Regions from separate parts of the Homo sapiens genome. Here all the other regions are linked to region 2. Evidence: promoter capture Hi-C in 16 types of primary human blood cells and fetal thymus (Javierre and others, 2016). All regions are on one chromosome and are shown on one strand. The core of a region is centred on a gene start or on the middle of the fragment in contact, and the rest is flanking DNA. Distances in the headings are between cores, read along the strand shown.

Evidence for each region. Contacts are between HindIII fragments. The CHiCAGO score rates a contact against its expected background, and 5 or more counts as called.
Region 1: a contact is called between a fragment that was not itself captured here and the fragment with the promoter of SLC35G5 in region 2, in 2 of 17 cell types (naive B cells and total B cells). The highest score is 10.1, in naive B cells.
Region 3: a contact is called between a fragment that was not itself captured here and the fragment with the promoter of SLC35G5 in region 2, in 1 of 17 cell types (naive B cells). The highest score is 5.5, in naive B cells.
Region 4: a fragment that was not itself captured here is called in contact with the fragment with the promoter of SLC35G5 in region 2 in 4 of 17 cell types (total B cells, fetal thymus, naive B cells and 1 more); the score reaches 7.5 in total B cells.

The regions. Positions count from the first base shown.
Region 1 is chr8:11,748,811-11,751,720 of GRCh38, forward strand. GATA4 (GATA binding protein 4) reads left to right here. Exons shown (of 7, transcript NM_001308093.3): 3 at 106-275; 4 at 1,301-1,426. Among named protein-coding and RNA genes, the nearest start is that of LINC02905, 11 kb to the right of the region's middle. The HindIII fragment of the contact is 705 bases long and covers 987-1,691 here.
Region 2 is chr8:11,329,704-11,332,450 of GRCh38, forward strand. SLC35G5 (solute carrier family 35 member G5) reads left to right here and starts at 1,309. Exons shown (of 1, transcript NM_054028.2): 1 at 1,309-2,657. The coding sequence starts at 1,404. The coding sequence ends at 2,420. It also overlaps a transcript of MTMR9 not described here. The HindIII fragment of the contact is 5,485 bases long and covers 1-2,747 here.
Region 3 is chr8:11,606,026-11,608,725 of GRCh38, forward strand. No RefSeq gene overlaps it. Among named protein-coding and RNA genes, the nearest start is that of LINC00208, 31 kb to the left of the region's middle. The HindIII fragment of the contact is 225 bases long and covers 1,230-1,454 here.
Region 4 is chr8:11,731,006-11,733,795 of GRCh38, forward strand. The region is part of intron 2 of GATA4 (GATA binding protein 4); the gene reads left to right. Among named protein-coding and RNA genes, the nearest start is that of SNORA99, 27 kb to the left of the region's middle. The HindIII fragment of the contact is 1,336 bases long and covers 781-2,116 here.

The sequences.
Region 1 (2,910 bases), core at 89-2,588, 420 kb after region 2:
GAAAGGGCATTGTTTCTGTGCGCTCTAGATTCTCAGATGTGAGAGCTGGGCATAAACAAAGAATTAATCCTCTGTGTCTTTTCTTGTCTGTTCCCCCCAACTCAGTAGATATGTTTGACGACTTCTCAGAAGGCAGAGAGTGTGTCAACTGTGGGGCTATGTCCACCCCGCTCTGGAGGCGAGATGGGACGGGTCACTATCTGTGCAACGCCTGCGGCCTCTACCACAAGATGAACGGCATCAACCGGCCGCTCATCAAGCCTCAGCGCCGGCTGGTAAGCACGTGCCTCGCAGCCTCCTCTGGGCACCTGGCTGCGGAGCTCTCGCCTTGGTGGGACATCCTCTGGTTTTGAATTTTGGAACTTGAGGGTGTGCATCGGGGATTACGTGGGTGAGAGCCCCATAATAATTCTCACAACTTTAGAGTTAGCTGGAGCCACCAGAATGATCCAGGCTGTCTAGTTCAACCTCTTCGGCACACAGAAACTGAAAGTGAGGCTCAGAAAAGCTAGTGGCCTTGCCCACAGCCACTCAGGTACTGAGTCTCCCATCTAGAACTCTGGAACCAGAATCCAGGTTTCCTGGTTCCCAGTCCAGTGTTGACTGGAGTGTCTCCTCCACCCACACCAACCCTGCAAGGAAGGTCACCTCAGAGGCTGGTCTCTACCCTGACCTCAGTTGATCAGTTGATAAATCCCAAAGCCCAGAAGTGCAAGCAGCTTGTGTTGGGCCCCGTGGCTAGGGAAGAGTTTGGGCCTGGGGCTTGGCTCCTGGCTTCCTGCTCCTTTTTAATATAATTTGATTCTGGTCAACACCAACCAGCTTGCACTATATTAAGGAGGGAAGAACAGAGGGGATAAACCTGGTGCCTCCCTTTCTTGAGGTCCCAGGGCCATTCAGACTTTGATACCATTTGGACACCGTGATTCCTCACTCTCTGCCTGCCCCCGGCACCTGCAGCCCCGGTCAGTTCTCCTCTCAGGAGAAGCTTTCCTGCCGGCAGTGCCCGGCGCTCACTGGTTATTCGCCTGACGGTGAATGATGGTTAGGACTGGAAACCAGGTCTCGATGCCCACGTTCGCTCTCCTCGGGCAGCAGAAACCTTGTTCTGATTTATTCCTCGCAGTGGCGCAGGTGACAGGAGAGTTAGGTGCCGTCACAGGTCAGAGATCTCATGCAGGGTCGTTAGGGCCCAGCCCTGCCTCCCGTTAGGGAGGCCCAGCTCCGCAGCCACACGCGAGGTGGAAGGGCAGTGCACACCTTTTACTTGGACATGAAGCATTTGTTTCCTGTCTTGCAGTCCGCCTCCCGCCGAGTGGGCCTCTCCTGTGCCAACTGCCAGACCACCACCACCACGCTGTGGCGCCGCAATGCGGAGGGCGAGCCTGTGTGCAATGCCTGCGGCCTCTACATGAAGCTCCACGGGGTACGTGGGTCCTGCGCCCATGCGGCATCCTTGCCTTCTGATGCCCATCTCTCAGTCCTCCCTTGTCTTCTTCCTTTGTACTAGCATTCATTTTTCCTTCTTAACAAAGAGACTTAGATTTGGAAGGGGCTTTCAACTACTTTGCTGGCCTCTTCCGTCCTTTACATTGTATAAGTGAATTTTCCGTTTTACAGATGAGCAGGCTACATTTATATGTAGCAGTTTGATGTGTAACAAAGGTGACGTTTCGATTCAGTGGATAAGAAGCTTAAGGATAGTTGTATTGACAAAATTGGCTGTTCATTTGGAAAACAGAAGGAAAGCATGACCTCTACCTCCTACCTTAAACAAAAATAAACTTGGGTGAATTAAGGATATTACATGTAAAACATCTTTGAAATAAACTAAAAGTAAGGCCAGGCATCATGACTCATGCCTGTAATTGCAGCACTTTGGGAGGCTGAGGCAGAAGGATTGCATGAGCTCAGGATTTCAAAACCAACCTGGACAACATGGTGAAACTTTGTCTCTACTAAAAAAAAAAAAAAAAAAAAAAAAAATCTAGCTGGGCATGGTGGTGCATGCCTCTAGTCCCAGCTACTCAGGAGTCTGAGGTAGGAGGATGGCTTGAGCTCAGGAGTTTGAGGCTGCAGTGAGCTCTGATTGTCCCACTGCACTCCAGCCTGAGTGACAAAGTGAGACCCTGTCTCCAAAAAAATAAAAATATTAGATAATAAAATACTGCAAAGAAAATCAGACAATAAAAACACTGGAAGAAAATGTAAGGGAAAGTATTTATATAACTTTGGGGATGGGAGAACTTCTTAAACAAGATTTTAAAACTTTTTAGCCATATAAGAATAGTTAGATATATTTGATTTTGTAAATATTTACTGTTTGTGCCTGGAAATGATACCTAGGGAAAGTAAAGACCAATACACACAGTATCAGAAAAAGGGTTAATATTTCCAGAATTACAAGGAGCTTCTACAAAGCTCTTTAATTTTTATTGGAACATTCTCCATTATACAATATTAACAAAAAGGCAAGGTGCCCAACACTACCTACTATGGCACTATTTTTATAAATATGAGGAAGAATATAATTTATAGGTGGTTGCTTCCACATATACAGAACACCTCTGGTAGGATATGTAGAGATTGGTCACATGGTCACATGTATGCATATATACGTACATGGGGTGCCTCCAGGAGAAAAACTGGGGTCCTGGGGAGAAGGGATTGGAAGGACACTCTTTTTGCTGTGTACCCCCTTGGTACCTTAGACGGGACATATGCAAGTCTTAATTGTTCAAATACAAGTTAAATTAAAACCAAACCAAACCAGAAACAGATAGGTCTTGTAGCCTAATAAGAAAAGAACAATTGATCTTTCCCCACTTCCCCCAAATGGGCAAAAGATATGGACTGACATCTCACAGAAGCTGCCCAGATAGCCATGAAACATGTGCACATATGCTGAAT
Region 2 (2,747 bases), core at 59-2,558:
TGCTGAGATTGCAGCCTCTGCCCGGCCGCCACCCCGTCTGGGAAGGGAGGAGCGTCTCCGCCTGGCCACCCATCGTCTGGGATGTGAGGAGCCCCTCTGCCCGGCTGCCCAGTCTGGGAAGTGAGGAGCGCCTCTTCCTGGCCGCCATCCCGTCTAGGAAGTGAGGAGCGTCTCTGCCCAGCTGCCCATCATCTGAGATGTGGGGAGCGCCTCTGCCCGGCTGCGACCCCGTCTGGGAGGTGAGAAGCGTCTCTGCCCGGCCGCCCTGTCTGAGAAGTGAGGAGCCCCTCCGCCTGGCAGCTGCCCCGTCTGGGAAGTGAGGAGCACCCCGCCCGGCAGCCGCCCCGTCTGGGAAGTGAGGAGCGTCTCCGCCTGGCAGCCGCCCCATCCGGGAGGGAGGTGGGAGGTCAGCCCCCGCCCGGCCAGCAGCCCCGTCCGGGAGGGAGGTCGGGGATCAGCCCCCGCCCGGCCAGCCGCCCCGTCCGGGAGGGAGGTGGGGGGTCAGCCGCGGCCTGGCCAGCCGCCCCGTCCGGGAGGGAGGTGGAGGGTCAGCCCCCCACCGGCCAGCCGCCCTGTCCGGGAGGGAGGTGGGGGGTCAGCCCCCACCCGGCCAGCTGCCCCGTCTGGGAGGGAGGTGGGGGGCGCCTCTGCCCGGCTGCCCCTTCTGGGAAGTGAGGAGCCCCTCTGCCCGGCCACCACCCCGTCTGGGAGGTGTACCCAACAGCTCATTGAGAACGGGCCATGATGACGATGGCGGTTTTGTGGAATAGAAAAGGGGGAAAGGTGGGGAAAAGATAGAGAAATCAGATTGTTGCTGTGTCTGTGTAGAAAGAAGTAGACATGGGAGACTTCATTTTGTTCTGTACTGGGAGGGGTTCTTCTGCCTTGGGATACTGTTGATCTGTGACCTTGACCCCAGCCCTGTGCTCTCTGGGGCATGTGCTGTGTCCACTCAGGGTTAAATGGATTAAGGGCGGTGCAAGATGTGCTTTGTTAAACAGATACTTGAAGACAGCATGCTCGTTAAGAGTCATCACCACTCCCTAATCTCAAGTACCCAGGGACACAAACACTGCGGAAGGCCGCAGGGTCCTCTGCCTAGGAAAACCAGAGACCTTTGTTCACTTGTTTATCTGCTGACCTTCCCTCCACTATTGTCCTATGACCCTGCCAAATCCCCCTCTGCGAGAAACACCCAAGAATGATCAATTAAAAAAAAAAAAAAGAAAGAAAGAAAGAAAGAAAAGAAGCAGAGTTGGACTCAGCGGGAAAATAGGCGTGCTACCACCTCAGGAGAGTTCCAGGGAAGAACCCCACCCGCACTCCAATGAGGTCACAATGGCTGGAGCTCTGAGGGGCCCAGGCTCCCTGAGCCAGGAGGAGAGGAGAAAGTCCAAGGAAAGATGGCTGGCAGTCACCCCTACTTCAACCTGCCTGACTCCACACACCCATCGCCGCCCTCCGCTCCACCCAGCCTCCGCTGGCACCAGCGCTGCCAGCCCTCTGGTGCCACCAATGGCCTGCTGGTGGCCCTGCTGGGTGGGGGCCTGCCTGCTGGCTTCGTGGGCCCCCTTTCTCGTATGGCTTACCAGGGTTCCAACCTGCCCTCGCTGGAGCTGCTCATCTGTCGATGCCTCTTCCACCTCCCTATTGCCCTGCTACTTAAACTGCGTGGCGACCCCCTTCTGGGACCTCCTGACATCCGAGGCTGGGCCTGCTTCTGTGCCCTGCTCAACGTCCTCAGCATTGGATGTGCCTACAGTGCAGTTCAGGTGGTGCCCGCTGGCAACGCTGCCACTGTTCGCAAAGGTTCTTCCACCGTATGCTCCGCTGTCCTCACCCTCTGCCTTGAGAGCCAGGGTCTCGGTGGCTACGAGTGGTGTGGACTGTTGGGCAGCATCCTAGGACTAATCATCATTCTGGGACCTGGACTCTGGACACTACAGGAGGGGACCACAGGTGTCTACACCACCCTGGGCTATGTGCAGGCTTTCCTGGGAGGCCTGGCGCTGTCCCTGGGGCTTCTGGTCTATCGTTCTCTGCACTTTCCCTCCTGCCTCCCAACAGTGGCCTTCCTATCTGGCTTGGTGGGGCTGCTGGGCTGTGTGCCAGGCCTCTTTGTGCTGCAGACCCCCGTGTTGCCCAGTGACCTCCTGAGTTGGAGTTGTGTGGGGGCAGAGGGGATCCTCGCCTTGGTCTCCTTCACATGTGTGGGCTATGCGGTCACCAAGGCCCACCCTGCCCTGGTGTGCGCTGTCCTGCATTCCGAGGTGGTTGTGGCCCTTATACTGCAGTATTATATGCTCCATGAGACTGTGGCACTTTCTGACATCATGGGGGCAGGGGTTGTGCTGGGCAGCATTGCCATCATTACAGCCCGGAACCTCAGCTGTGAGAGGACAGGGAAGGTGGAGGAGTGAGATAGAACTTGGGAGCCCGGGGGTTGGGAGGGACAGGGATAAATAAAGACAAAGACTGAAGACAAAAAAAAAATAAAAGAAAAAAAATAATTATAATAAATCCTAGGAAAGAGTGAAAGTCTAACTTCCATAGCACATTATAATATTGAGATGTTCAGTTATAATAAAAATATCACAAAGCATGCAAACAAATGAGAAATCTGGCTTATTTACAGGAATAAAATTAATTGAACTATCCTTAAGGAATCCCAGACTTTGGACTTACTAGACAAAGACTAAACAATTGTCTTAAATATGCACAAGAGTTAAAAGACAACTAAATGAAAT
Region 3 (2,700 bases), core at 92-2,591, 280 kb after region 2:
GTAGGACACTCTAAGATTTCAAGGACCTTGTGCAGTCATGGTGGTTCTAACCCTTCGGCCATGAGGGACAGAAATGCTACGACTCTCCGGACATATTTCCCAAAGTACTGCCTTTCTTGGCATTTTTAAGGTGTTATGCTTACATGACTGACCATTGTCAACGTCATGAGGCATGAAAGAGCAGTGGCCAAAGGTGGGGCTATAGCTGTCTTCCAGGTCTCCTAGCTCCAGCGGTGCAAACGCCACCCCAGGCCAGGCTTTCGGGGCTCACCTCCAGAGGTTGGACATGGCTATGGCTTGGGTGGGGGAATCTTGGGCTGATCAAGAATCCCAGGCATCTTCAGGCCCTGCCAGCACACCAAGGGGTGTCAGAGTGTGCATGGACTTTGAAACCATTTCATAGCGGAGCACGTTATTTTGGTTCTTTAAGCCTCTGCTCTTGCCACTTGTGAAGTGCGGATAACATCTTGCACAATGATTGTAAGGATTAGTCAAACAGCATAAGCTACTTAGAAGAATCAGCCCAGAGCACTCCTCAGCAGACCCACCTCTTACCAACATAACAATGCTGAGTGGATCGTTTGTGGCTAAAAACCTGATCCCCTATAAGGAAGAGGAGACAGTGTGCTGGAATCAGACAGATCTGGATTCAAAAACTCTCCGGTGCTCACTAACTCTAGGGCCTTAGGCAAGTTGCAAAACCTCACGGAGCCTCAGTTTTCTCATCTGCCAAATGGAGAGCTGACACCTACCTCAAAGAGCCATGGTGAATAGTAAATGAGAAAACATGTCTACAGCTCCTCACACATAGCAAGCACTCAACGACTGTGAACTCCCAACCCTTCCTCCCATCGAACTCAATATCAAGATTTTAAAGGGAATAAAAAGCCTGGCTTTTGGGTTTCATTGGAAGTGTTTTAAGTGAGCTAAACAATGACTTCTCACTTCTCATAGGTAACATCGAATCCCAGAGCTGGAAGAGCTCAGCACTCACCTATATCACTGCCTATATTTTTACGAGGCCTTAGTAGCAAAGTGGGCTTTTGCATCACATCTCCTTTAGTTTCAAGGGACACACCCCAACTCAGACCAGGATAAGTAACAGTGAAATATTTGGGACCTTGGGTGATACTGGGACTCAAAGGAGGTTTCCAGAGCTTGTTCTGTCTCATCATCTCCTGGCTCTCACTCCCTTTGGCTGTTGACCTTATTGCCTTCTATGGCTGGCAAGCTTTCTCCATACAGAGGAGAAAGAAATTAATGACAGCTCTAGACTCCTATTGTCAGTTTTGCTACCCCAGTAGGAACTTCCCACTGCCAACAGTGAGGTTGAATGAATGAGGTTCAATGAATGAACCTATATCATTCATCCCAGGGAAGGGCACTAATGGTCCTGTTGGCTAATCATTGACTCCACCCCCTGAGACAGTGGCTGTTACACCAATGGCTGGCCAAGCTTGGGATGTGATGAGTGATCCAGGACCTCATGGCAGGTGCTGGGCAGAGAAGGACAGCATGTCTATCATTGTGTTTGCCAGTCACCTAGCTGGTGAGGGATACTGATAGAATGAGCATGCAAGCGTTCTGGCTCCTAATTTTGTAGTTTTCCCTTCTATCATCTCACATTCCCAGGCCCATTGGTAGACGCTATTGATCAAGTGTTTGAAGTGGATTTGTGCTATTATCGTCCCTTAGGAAATTAGGGGGCCTACAGCTCCCACTTAGGGACCAGCAAACCAGAATTTGTGGTAAGGTCAATCTGCAGCTGTAAGACCGTAATCTGGGGGTCTTAAATATTCATCCATAACCAAACCAGCTAAGCCACCCTGCACATGGATAAGACACGCTGGGGGCAGCATTGTTTTCAACCTCCCTGCAATGGTGTCAGCATGATGGCTAGCTCCATCTCCCGTCAGAAATTCAGCATCCTCCTACCCAGACACTAAGCATGTGCCCTCGCACTGTCAGAGAAAGGCTCTTATCTGTCCGTGAATCTGGCTGTGCCTCTATAATAAAACATATCAGGTTGATTGCTTAAATTGTTTATAAATCTGGTGCTATCTTTACTGTTTATAAAAATTCCGGTGTGGTCAATATTGGTCCCTACTGCTCCAATTAAAATGGCCAAATGAACCTCAGCACCAGCTGGAATTTCAACTGTGGCCAATCCACGTGGAGTTTTGCACTTCTGCAAGAGTGGAAGTCATGGAATAGTAGAGCTGGAAGCAGCTCTAGTGACTGTCCAGTCTAATTCTTTCCTTTTACAGATGAAGAAGGTGAGGAACAGGGAGAGAACCACATGACTTCAGGGCAGAGGTTTGCAACAACATTGCTTAATGAAATATTGAGCTCAAGCTGTGGCCAAGTGCTGATCCAGAGGCAAGGCAGCCACCATAAAGAGAGCATGGCAGCCACAGCCACATTTGCACTCTCCTAGTTCCCCTTCCATGGTCATTTGAGTCCTGGGGACACTGGACCTTCAGTCCTTCTGCCTCAAGTGGACCAACATTGGGAGAGTTGTCCTGGCATCTGAGGATTAAAAGCCAGCTCCCCTGATCCCCTGAGGCATCCGCTCCTGCTCCCCAGAAGCACTCCAGAGACCCAGCTTTGGCCAGCTGTTTCACGTCTATTTGAAGAGCTGAAATTCTAATAAGGATGATTTATGAGTTTCTGAGCGAGAATAATGGGAGCCATGCTTTC
Region 4 (2,790 bases), core at 199-2,698, 400 kb after region 2:
CCTTCCCTCTCCATTTGTTGCTGCAGGATTCTCCTTTGGTCCTGACTTTTCTGGTTTTTCATTTCCTTACCTGTAATCTGTTCACTCTTGGTCAGCAAGAGAATAATATTGCAGCTACCACTGCCTCTGAGTTTCCTCCTGGAAGACTGAGTCTTATGAAGACCCGGTTTTGAGGAGTTTCCTGGCTGGATCAGCAAAACCACAGTGATCCACATTTGATTGATGTATTTTGAGTTTACATTTATTCCCAATGTTTATTTTCTTGTAAAAATGAGCGCATTATTGATTAAAAGAGAGAGACACAATATCCAAAAGGTGGAAGTAGCCTAGGTGTCCATCCGTGGATGAATGAATGAACAAATGTGGTCTGTGTGCTCAGTGGAGTATTACTCAGCCTTAAAAAGGAAGTCTTGCACTGCTACAACAGATGAATCCTGAAGACATTACGCTAAGTGAAACAAGCCAGTCACCAAAGGACAAACACTCTATGATCCCACTTCTGTGGGGCCCCCAGAGCCGTCAAATTCATGACGACAGAAAGCAGAAGAGGGGTTGCCAGGTGGTGGGGCCAGGATCGGGGTGCGGGAGGATGGGGAGTTAGAGTTTAATGGGTGCAGAGTTTCAGTTTTGCACGATGAAAACAGTTGTAGAGATTAGTTTCACAACAGTGTGAACACATTTACTATCACTGAACTGTACACTTAAAAATGGTTAAGATGGCTAATTTTATATGTATTTTATCACAATTTAAAGAAGAGAAAAATGGAGAGGCAGTGTACAAGCTTAGTAAGTAGAAAGTAAATTGTGAAAACCTTTTTCCTAACACTTCATTCTATTTGCTTCTTTGGCCAAAGGTGTAAGTAGCATTGATGGACGATTAGGTAGAACTAGCCATCCAGAATTGGTTCTACAAGATTGCCTTTCTGGCTCTTCAGTGTTTCTCTTTGCCCAAGCCTCAGTGTTATCCTGCTATCACAGCAGGGCTGATCACTAAGGAGAAGGTTATCCTTGGTGAGGAGGTGGAAAATGGTGATTTTTAAATGTTGTACTACAAGCAACCGAGTTTTGATCTGCAAATCTATCATATTTATAATCTGCATTAAAATTTTAAGTCACATTCATAAAATATAGGAGTGGATGCACTTTTAAAATTTCTTTGGAATGCAAATCAGATTGGATTAAAGCTATTAACCATGTGTAATAAAAGACTGTAGATTTTGTAGCAGCTTCATGCTCTACCTAAGATGTCTGCCAAGTAAGTGAAATGTATTTGTAAAAAGGCAGATGGAACTACTAGACGTATTGTCATCGAACTATTCTCCAGGGGCACTGATTTCAGTGCAGGTGCTTTAGATGGGAGGAAGGCTGAGAGCAGGGTCTGTGGGGCCCCTATTGCAGAGAAGCTCCGTTTCATCTACTTTATATTTGATTTGTAAATGTTTGATTTGCTTGGCTAAAGAATTCTGAGGCTAGAGCAACAAAACAAAACAGAAGGAGAGAGGTTGGGAAGAAAACGTGAAGTAACACCAAAAAACTAACTGCTATTGCAAAACAAGGATAAAATAGATAATTCAAGATAGATGTGATTGATTGCCATAAAGATTCATGAACACGTCAGGTGAACCCGAGTCTGGAGGCTAGAGGAAGAGGAGCCGACGGAATTTGAGGAGGATGTGTGTCTGGTCTGAAGAGGAGGTAGAGACTTCCTGCGAAGGCTAGCAGAGTAAAGGTTTGCTTTCTCCCTTTCCTCCCCGAAGACCAGCACATCAGATGAAAAGAACCCCCCAAATCAAGTAAAACTTTTATCTGCAGTGAAATTAAGAGATAACTCATATCCCCAACTATAGAAAACTGCCGAATATAATATAAATCCAGACCACATGGAGGGAAAGACTTCGAGAGCTGGTCCATACCTCTCAGCTCTCCTGCCTGTTCGCCTCCCAAATGCCCAACCTCCAAATACCATCACATGTGGGTTAGGGTTGCCAGGAGTAAATTTCCTTGTTAATAAAATGAATGAGATAGGAAAGAAAGCGGCAATGTTTTCATTATTTGCAGATAAAATACTGGTCAACTTCACTAAACAAATGTAAATTCCCTGTGGAGGGAGCTATAAAGCTTTACTGAAGGGCATAAAAGAAGACATGAATAAATGGAGAAAGATACTAGATCCTTGGATTGGAAAAGTTGGCAGCATTCTTTATTCCAAACTCCCTCAAACAAATCTATAAATTTAACACAGTCTCAGGAAACATCCCAGCAAGATTTCTTAAATACAACGTGTCCAGCTGATTATAAAATTTATATGAAAGAGTTATTGTACAAGAATAGCCAAGATAATTTTTTAAAAGGAGACTTAAGAAAGGGGAACTTGCCTTATCAGAAATCAAAACAAACTAGAGACACACTGGCACGGAAGCTAAAGCAGTGATGTTCATTGCAGCCCTGTTGTGTGTAGCAGTGAAAAATTACTTGCTGAAATGCAGCCAAGGTATTAGGAATGGGGAGGCTGTGGCATAAAAAGATTGGCATTAGCATTGAATCCTTTCAAATATCATGTACAGCTAAACAGCTGTGAGAATTATGGAGTAGAATGTAAGTGTTATGTGCCTTAACAATGCCAAACTAATAAATCCTCTTCGAAGAGAGAAGTAGATCTGTGCTGATATGGAAAAATGTCTAAACAGATATGCGTCCCTGCAGAAACAGCTGCAGAGGAGTATCCATGGTATGATCCCACGTGTGTTCAGCACACTGCTCTGTTCTTTCCTGTACTGAGGGAGCCCATTT